2 separate regions of the Homo sapiens genome follow, and region 1 is linked to region 2. Evidence: promoter capture Hi-C in human tissues and cell types (Jung and others, 2019). All regions are on one chromosome and are shown on one strand. The core of a region is centred on a gene start or on the middle of the fragment in contact, and the rest is flanking DNA. Distances in the headings are between cores, read along the strand shown.

Evidence for each region. Contacts are between HindIII fragments. The study calls those that stand out against the background at their distance.
Region 1: the fragment with the promoter of PRG2 here is called in contact with a fragment that was not itself captured in region 2 in 1 of the 25 tissues and cell types used here (spleen).

What each region holds. Positions count from the first base shown.
Region 1 is chr11:57,389,057-57,392,611 of GRCh38, reverse strand. PRG2 (proteoglycan 2, pro eosinophil major basic protein) reads left to right here and starts at 1,962. Exons shown (of 6, transcript NM_002728.6): 1 at 1,962-2,016; 2 at 2,656-2,725; 3 at 3,295-3,555. The coding sequence starts at 2,668. The HindIII fragment of the contact is 9,070 bases long and covers 1-3,555 here.
Region 2 is chr11:57,801,364-57,804,845 of GRCh38, reverse strand. CTNND1 (catenin delta 1) reads right to left here. Exons shown (of 21, transcript NM_001085458.2): 7 at 2,650-3,113; 8 at 1,042-1,225; 9 at 66-183. It overlaps TMX2-CTNND1 (TMX2-CTNND1 readthrough (NMD candidate)), which reads right to left. Exons shown (of 21, transcript NR_037646.1): 8 at 2,650-3,113; 9 at 1,042-1,225; 10 at 66-183. Among named protein-coding and RNA genes, the nearest start is that of CTNND1, 41 kb to the right of the region's middle. The HindIII fragment of the contact is 3,742 bases long and covers 1-3,325 here.

The DNA of each region.
Region 1 (3,555 bases), core at 713-3,212, 410 kb after region 2:
TTCACTCTGATTTTATCTCCACCTGGATAGCATCATTTTTGACACACAAGCAGGCATATGGGAGGGGAGAGAAGTTTGGTGCCAGAAAGAACTGGATTTGAATTCTAACCCTGTTGTTTACGTGAGTACGTTACTTAACCATTAATTACTTCAATGTATATTTATTAAGTACCTACTATGTGCCGGGCACTGTACTAAGCACCAAGGATACAATGGTGAGTAAAGAGATGCAGCCTTCACCATCACGAAGGAAGACAGATGTTAATCCATTAACCAAGTAATCTCACAAGAAAAGTAAAATGACTAACTGATAAGGACAAGCCCCTGGAGCTACAAGAGGGTGTATACAGGGCATCGATCCAATAAGGGCAGTGTTGCGGGGAGATCAGGAGCCACACAGAGCCTGGGTTGTCTCACTTGGAAAATGGGGTATCAACCACCTACCTCACTAGGTTTTTAAAATCAGGTTAAATGAGGTAATACTTGCCATGAACAGTATTTTGTTGATTGATGATTGATTGAAACGGAGTCTCACTCTCTCGCCCAAGCTGGAGTGCAGTGGTGCAATCTCAGCTCACTGCAACCTCTACTTCCTGGGTTCAAGTGATTCTCCTGCCTCAGACTCCCAAGTAGCTGGGATTACAGGCAGCCACCCCTATGCCTGACTAATTTTTGTATTTTTAGTAGAGACAAGGCTTTGCAATGTTGACCAGGCTGGTCTCAACCTCCTGACCTCAAAAGATCCACCCACCTCAGCCTCCCAAAGTGCTGGGATCACAGGCATGAGCCACTGCATCCAGCCACTTGCCATGCATGGCATTTAAAAATGTTCAGTAAATGTTACCATAATGAAGGCTGGTAGGTTGGCCAACTGAGTGGTCTGATTCAGAAGGAAAGAAGTTAGACATACGTGAACATTTCCTGTACTTGAAGATCCTCAGGACAGTGACTCCTAGACCCATCTTCCATCACAGTCAGCTGGGAAGCTTTTAAAAAAATGCAGACATCTGACCTTCACGCTAGACCTATTAGCCAAGCAGAAGTTTCTGGGCAGGGCATCTGCATATTTTTAAAAATCTTTAATAAGGCAGCCTCAAAATTACAGATTCAGCACGCATTTACCATAACCACTGAAGAAATGCAAAGTTATAAAAAGAAGATAAACAACAATCTGTCTCCTGCTTTCTTCCCTCTCCTCCCCTGCTTCTGGAGGCAACAAGGTCAACTATTTGGTGTGATTCCTTTTAGCATTCCCTCCATCAATGGTCACATAAGGATGCTCACAGATAAGCACCTATGCGGGGGTTTTTTTTTTCCTTGTAAAACTATTCACATACTAAATACTTTCCTCAGTATCTTGCCTTTTTTCACTTCATGTCACAGAAACATCTCTTCAGGTTTATAGATACAGGTCCAGCTCTTCTTTTCATAGCCATATAACATTCTGTAGAATAGAGAGGACACATTTTACTCAGTGTCCGATTGATGGATATCAATATTGTTTTCATTTCTACAAATAGTCAAGGAATAACATAACTCTGTAAAAGTTTTATTACTTATAGGCGCATTTATGCCTAAAGGATAGTCTCAAAAGAGTGAAACTGATCAAATGTGCATTTTTTTATTTTAATAGGTATGGACAGATTTGTTCTCAAAATGTTTGTGGCAGTTCAAAACACCAGTAAAACAGGGGAGATATGTATTTTGGAAAAGCACCCAAGGCGATTCTGAAGTGTAGCCCAGGATAAGAACCATTGCCCAGAGCTGTTCCAGATGGCCCCTGGGTTCCTGAAGTGGGTATCGGGAGAGAAATCTTCACTGAATGAATGAGTGGGCTCCCCAGGGAAGTGATGAAATGGTCCTTATCAGCCTTGCTATCTCCCTCTGACAGAGGCAAACTCTCTCTCCCTGGGGGAAGTTCCTCCAAGGCCTCTATATAAGAAGTCTTTGTGAGAGGAAGCAAAGAAGGACCTGGGCTTTGGGAAGATCTAAAGACCCAGGAAGGTCTCTGGGTGGGTGAGTGCTTTCTCTGCTGTGGTGGAGCTGGTGACAGTTTATTCTCCCAGGAGGTCCCTGGCTGTGGCTGACAGTTTCTGGAGGGCTGGCAGGCGTCTACCTGTGGCTTTCAGGTTATGAGGATGTCAGCAGGGGCAGCCTTCATCCTCTGCCTTGCACATTCCTTCTGCGGGATGTGAAAGTGCTCCTTGGCTGGGGAAAGGAGATGGTGGAGACATGGAGGAGGGTGTGGGTGGCTTCTTGAACTCTGAGGAGGGGACATACCTTCTAAGTCCTATGTGTTCCTAGGAAAGCCAATAATCATTGCTTCTCCCGCCTTTTTTATGTCATAGACTCTGAGGGACCCATTAAGTACAAACAAATAAGCGTAATAGTCCCTTCTTTACTTCCGGGCCTGAAGGAAAGCCAGCCTCAGCCACCCCTCAGGGTTTGCTGCGTTCTGTTTAGAAAGAGGTCCTTGCGTCCTGGATCCTGGAGCATCAGGAGCTGGGCTTGGCATGAGCTTTTCTGGCCCATCCTGATTTCTATTCAGGCCTTCTTTTTCTCCACCTCACTCCCACGGTCCCCTAATGGTGTGATTGTGATGTGTGTGCATGTGTGTCTGTGTGTGTCAATGACAAACTGTGTTCTCCGTTGCAGGATAAAGCCAAGATGAAACTCCCCTTACTTCTGGCTCTTCTATTTGGGGCAGTTTCTGCTCTTCATCTAAGTAAGTGTTTTTTGCCTTCAGTCTTTCTTTCTCTGTTTTTTCCCTTTCTATGGTAGATGGGGTCAGAGTTACACACCCACCCCCTTCTTTGATCGTCTTCTATTTCTGAATTTCTGTGTGCTTAAAGGGATGGGGACTCTATGGCCAGGAGTTGAAAGGATTTCTCAAGGCGTCTGTTATGTCTGTGGTCTTGGTTCTACTGTGACATTCCCAATTTTGTCCTTTCTCCATTATGCTTACTTTGAGCTTACTGAGTGCCTTCTCTCCTTTAACTCTCTTAGCATCGCCATGAAGTAGGTGGTATTGTATACCCATTTCACAGAAATACAGCTGGTGGATGATGGAACCAGTACCCAAGCCCATGACTGCCCGACTCTAAGTCCATGCTCTTAACCACCTTGACCTTGTCAGGCAGCTTGGGTTCCCCTCATAGAGACTGGGTTCCAGGTTCCCCTTCCCAGGCAGAGTTGAGCACTCTGATGCCCAGGGCAAGGTGTGAGCTGTCTGTGGTTCTGGGGAGGAACAAGGGGAGATGTGAAGGAAGGACACTTAGCTATCCTCCCTGCCAGGGTCTGAGACTTCCACCTTTGAGACCCCTTTGGGTGCTAAGACGCTGCCTGAGGATGAGGAGACACCAGAGCAGGAGATGGAGGAGACCCCTTGCAGGGAGCTGGAGGAAGAGGAGGAGTGGGGCTCTGGAAGTGAAGATGCCTCCAAGAAAGATGGGGCTGTTGAGTCTATCTCAGTGCCAGATATGGTGGACAAAAACCTTACGTGTCCTGAGGAAGAGGACACAGTAAAAGTGGTGGGCATCCCTGGGTGCCAGACCT
Region 2 (3,482 bases), core at 205-2,704:
TACAGATACTTCATAGTTGTGGTGAATGAAATTCACTCAGCCATTAAAGGTAAGACAGCACTTACCTTGCTGTCTGAATCCTTCTGCCCAATCTCAGCCTGAACAATGAAAATGAGGGCATCAACTAAACCATCACATTCCCGAAGTTTCCGGCGAGCTTCACTCCTCTCTGAGCTTACATTCCTGAGGGGAAACCAGAAGCTTCAAGATGACTCAAATCCAGAAATCCTCCCTTAAATATCCCTCAACACCTACAAGATTCCTGAATATGTTTTTCTACTCACTGTAATAGTAAATACCTATTATAAGCAAGGTACTGCAGTTGAGAGAAAGTTGATTAACAGTCCCTGCCTTCTGAATGTTTATATCACTGTGGGGTAGGGATTAATGATATGTACCAGATGCAGTAATTCAAGATGGAATATATACTTCTCGTATGGAAGTATATAATACATATGTAGAATGGAACACAGCACACAGAGGTGTATTCCAAAGAGAGAAAGATTATATAGCAGCATTTATAGGATATAAAAAGAATTCAGGAAAACTTTAATAAAATAAAGGCACTTGAGTTTAACCACAAAAAGATAAATAAGAAGAGAAAGGCATCACAGAAAGAACAGACCTTCCTCACCCATGCCCTAACCTCCTAGTACTCTGTACCCCTTTTGCTGAATTTATCACAGCCTGACTTGAAATACAAATAACTAGGGCAAGGACATAGACACACACAAGTCCAGGACTAGACCACCTTACATGTGGTAGATGCTGAACAAAAGCTTACCAAAGTAGATGAACAAAGTCAAAGAGGCATAAAAGTGAAGAGGATGTGTGGGGAACAGCAAGAAAACTGATATAGGTACATGTGGTATACATGAGAGAATAGCAACAAAGATAGAAAGGTTGGAGTTACAGTATGCAATACAGATAGGAATGGAGGCTAAAGAATAGGCTAAAGAATTTTAATTTTTTTTTTTTTTTAGGAAATTTAAGTCAGTCCTCAAAAATTCATCTTCATATTCTCAAAGTCCCTACTGTTACCTAAGGCAGCCAGCTGTGTTGGTGAGCACCGATTCCCACTCAATGTGGCGTGGCTTACAGTCTTCATTAGGTTCCCGCTCCCAACCAGAATGAGGAATGATCACTTCATCTGTCAAGGCATGCAGTGCATGGTCCACAATCTCCATTTTGATTGAGTCATGGGATGAAAGATTCCACAGGGTTCCTGGAAGAGACAATTCATCAGATGGCTCTTGAGCATTCAAGACAATATGTCTGAAGAACGTCAAAGAGAATCCCCCTATCGTATCACTTCTCAGTCTTCCCCAGTGACCAAATACCTTATAGTAATATTCAAGCTTTGTTTGCGACCCTCACCAAGAAACATATTCTACATTATAGCTCAAAATAAACATACAGATCATGAAACAAACAATGTTTAACTATAAGCAACGCTCAGGCTGGGTGTGGTGGCTCACGCCTGTAATCCCAGCAATTTGGGAGGCCAAGGCGGGCGGATCACAAGGTTGGGAGATCAAGACCATCCTGGCTAACACTAAAAATACAAAAAATTAGCCGGGCGTGGTGGCGGGCACCTGTAGTCCCAGCTACTTGGGAGGCTGAGGCAGGAGAATGGCGTGAACCCATGAGGCGGAGCTTGCGGTGAGCTGAGATTGTGCCACTGCACTCCAGCCTGGGTGACAGAGCGAGACTCCATCTCAAAAAAAACAAACAAAACTATAAGCAATGCTCAATGCTCTCCGATCTGTCTATACCAGAGTTTTTCAACCTCAGCACCACTGACATTTTCGGCCAGATGATTCTTTGTTATGAGGAGCTGTCTTGTCTATTGTTGGATGTTTACCAGTACCCCTGGCCTTTACTCACTAGATGCCAGTAGCACTCCCTCTCCCCTGTTCCAAGTTATAACAACCAAAAATATCTCCAACACTGCAAATGTCCAAATGTCCTCAGGGCAGGGCAGGCAAAATGGCCCACAACTGAGAAACAATGGTCTATACTACTTTTTCTTTATTCCTTTCCCTTGGAATGCTGATTATGCTCCACAAAATTTTGTTTTATTCACTAACGGATCACACAAATAGATCACAACCCACAATCTGAAAAACTACTGCTCTAAATAAAGCAAGAACCACAAGCTTAAATGTCTATATGGGTCAAGCCGGTGAGTCAAGAGAGGAAGATAATTAAAAGAAATTACAAGCATGTGAAAAAATAGCAGTTGACAGCTCCATGTTTGGGAAACAACTTCCTAAACAGCTGTAGTTGGTCAGATAATAGAATGTGTTGGAGATTAGTGTAAATTAGAGAGCACATGCTCCAATCAGTTCAGACCAAATACTGCTAAGGAAGAAAAGAGATCCATTGTTAACAACTCTTCCACGTTTTTAATAGAAGCCAAGAATCTGGAATTTTAAGTGAAATCTTCTGAATTTTAAACATCAGCAACCAGTTCTTTAAAATTTCAATAATGCTGTGTGATCCAAACAAATCTGTGAGATGGATTTGACCCACAGCCACCAGTTCACAACCTTTCATCAAAAGTAAAAGGTCTGGAAATCCCTCTAGTTCTCAACATCACTAGAGAGTAACACTGACTTAGCAATTTTCCTTAGGCCTAGAACTCACCGGTAATAACTTCAGTAAGGTCCATATCACGAGCCTTTCGAAGCAATCGCACAAGGGCAGGCACACCATCACAGTTTTTTATGGCAATCTTGTTATCCTGGTCACGTCCAAAAGAGATATTCTTGAGAGCTCCACAGGCTCCAAGGTGCACTTCCTTTTTGGGATGGTCTAACAATCCCACCAGTACTGGGATGCCCTTGAGCTTCCGCACGTCAGTCTTCACCTTGTCATTGCGGTAGCATAAGTGTTGCAGGTATGCAGCTGCATTGGACTTGACAGCATCCAAGCGGAATCCAAGCATGGCGATCACCTCTGGCAGCTCTGGCTGTCTCCAATTAGGAGGTGGAGGCCCTCCTTTGCGCAGGCTATCCAAGCTTGCTAAACTTCCTCGCTCATGCTGGGCCAAAGGAGCCCAGTAGTATTGATCCGATGGCACCTCCTCACCAATCATGTCTTCATAGCTCCTGAGAAGTTTTGGAAGAACCAAGAGAATACATCAAGTCATTATGGCTAGCTTCCTGGACATTCCCATTACCCTCATCTGCAAAGGAGGATTAACTGGAGTTTCAGTGTGCTCATCTTATCTCTCCTTTGCATGAATAATATACTGATCAATTTTCCTCAATGGGTTAGTAAAAATAAAAGGTAATAATTTTAAAAACACCTGCAATTTAATTAAAACTACATTTTTTTCTTTGAAGTCTGCAGGCTTAGAAAGTAACAAGCATTCAGGAAAGGCTAATCAAAAAGAAAGAACCAAATCCTTACTACTTATCATTTATTTGAATGATATCTGACAGTTATTAACTTGTCTAGGTAGAGATCAGGATAAA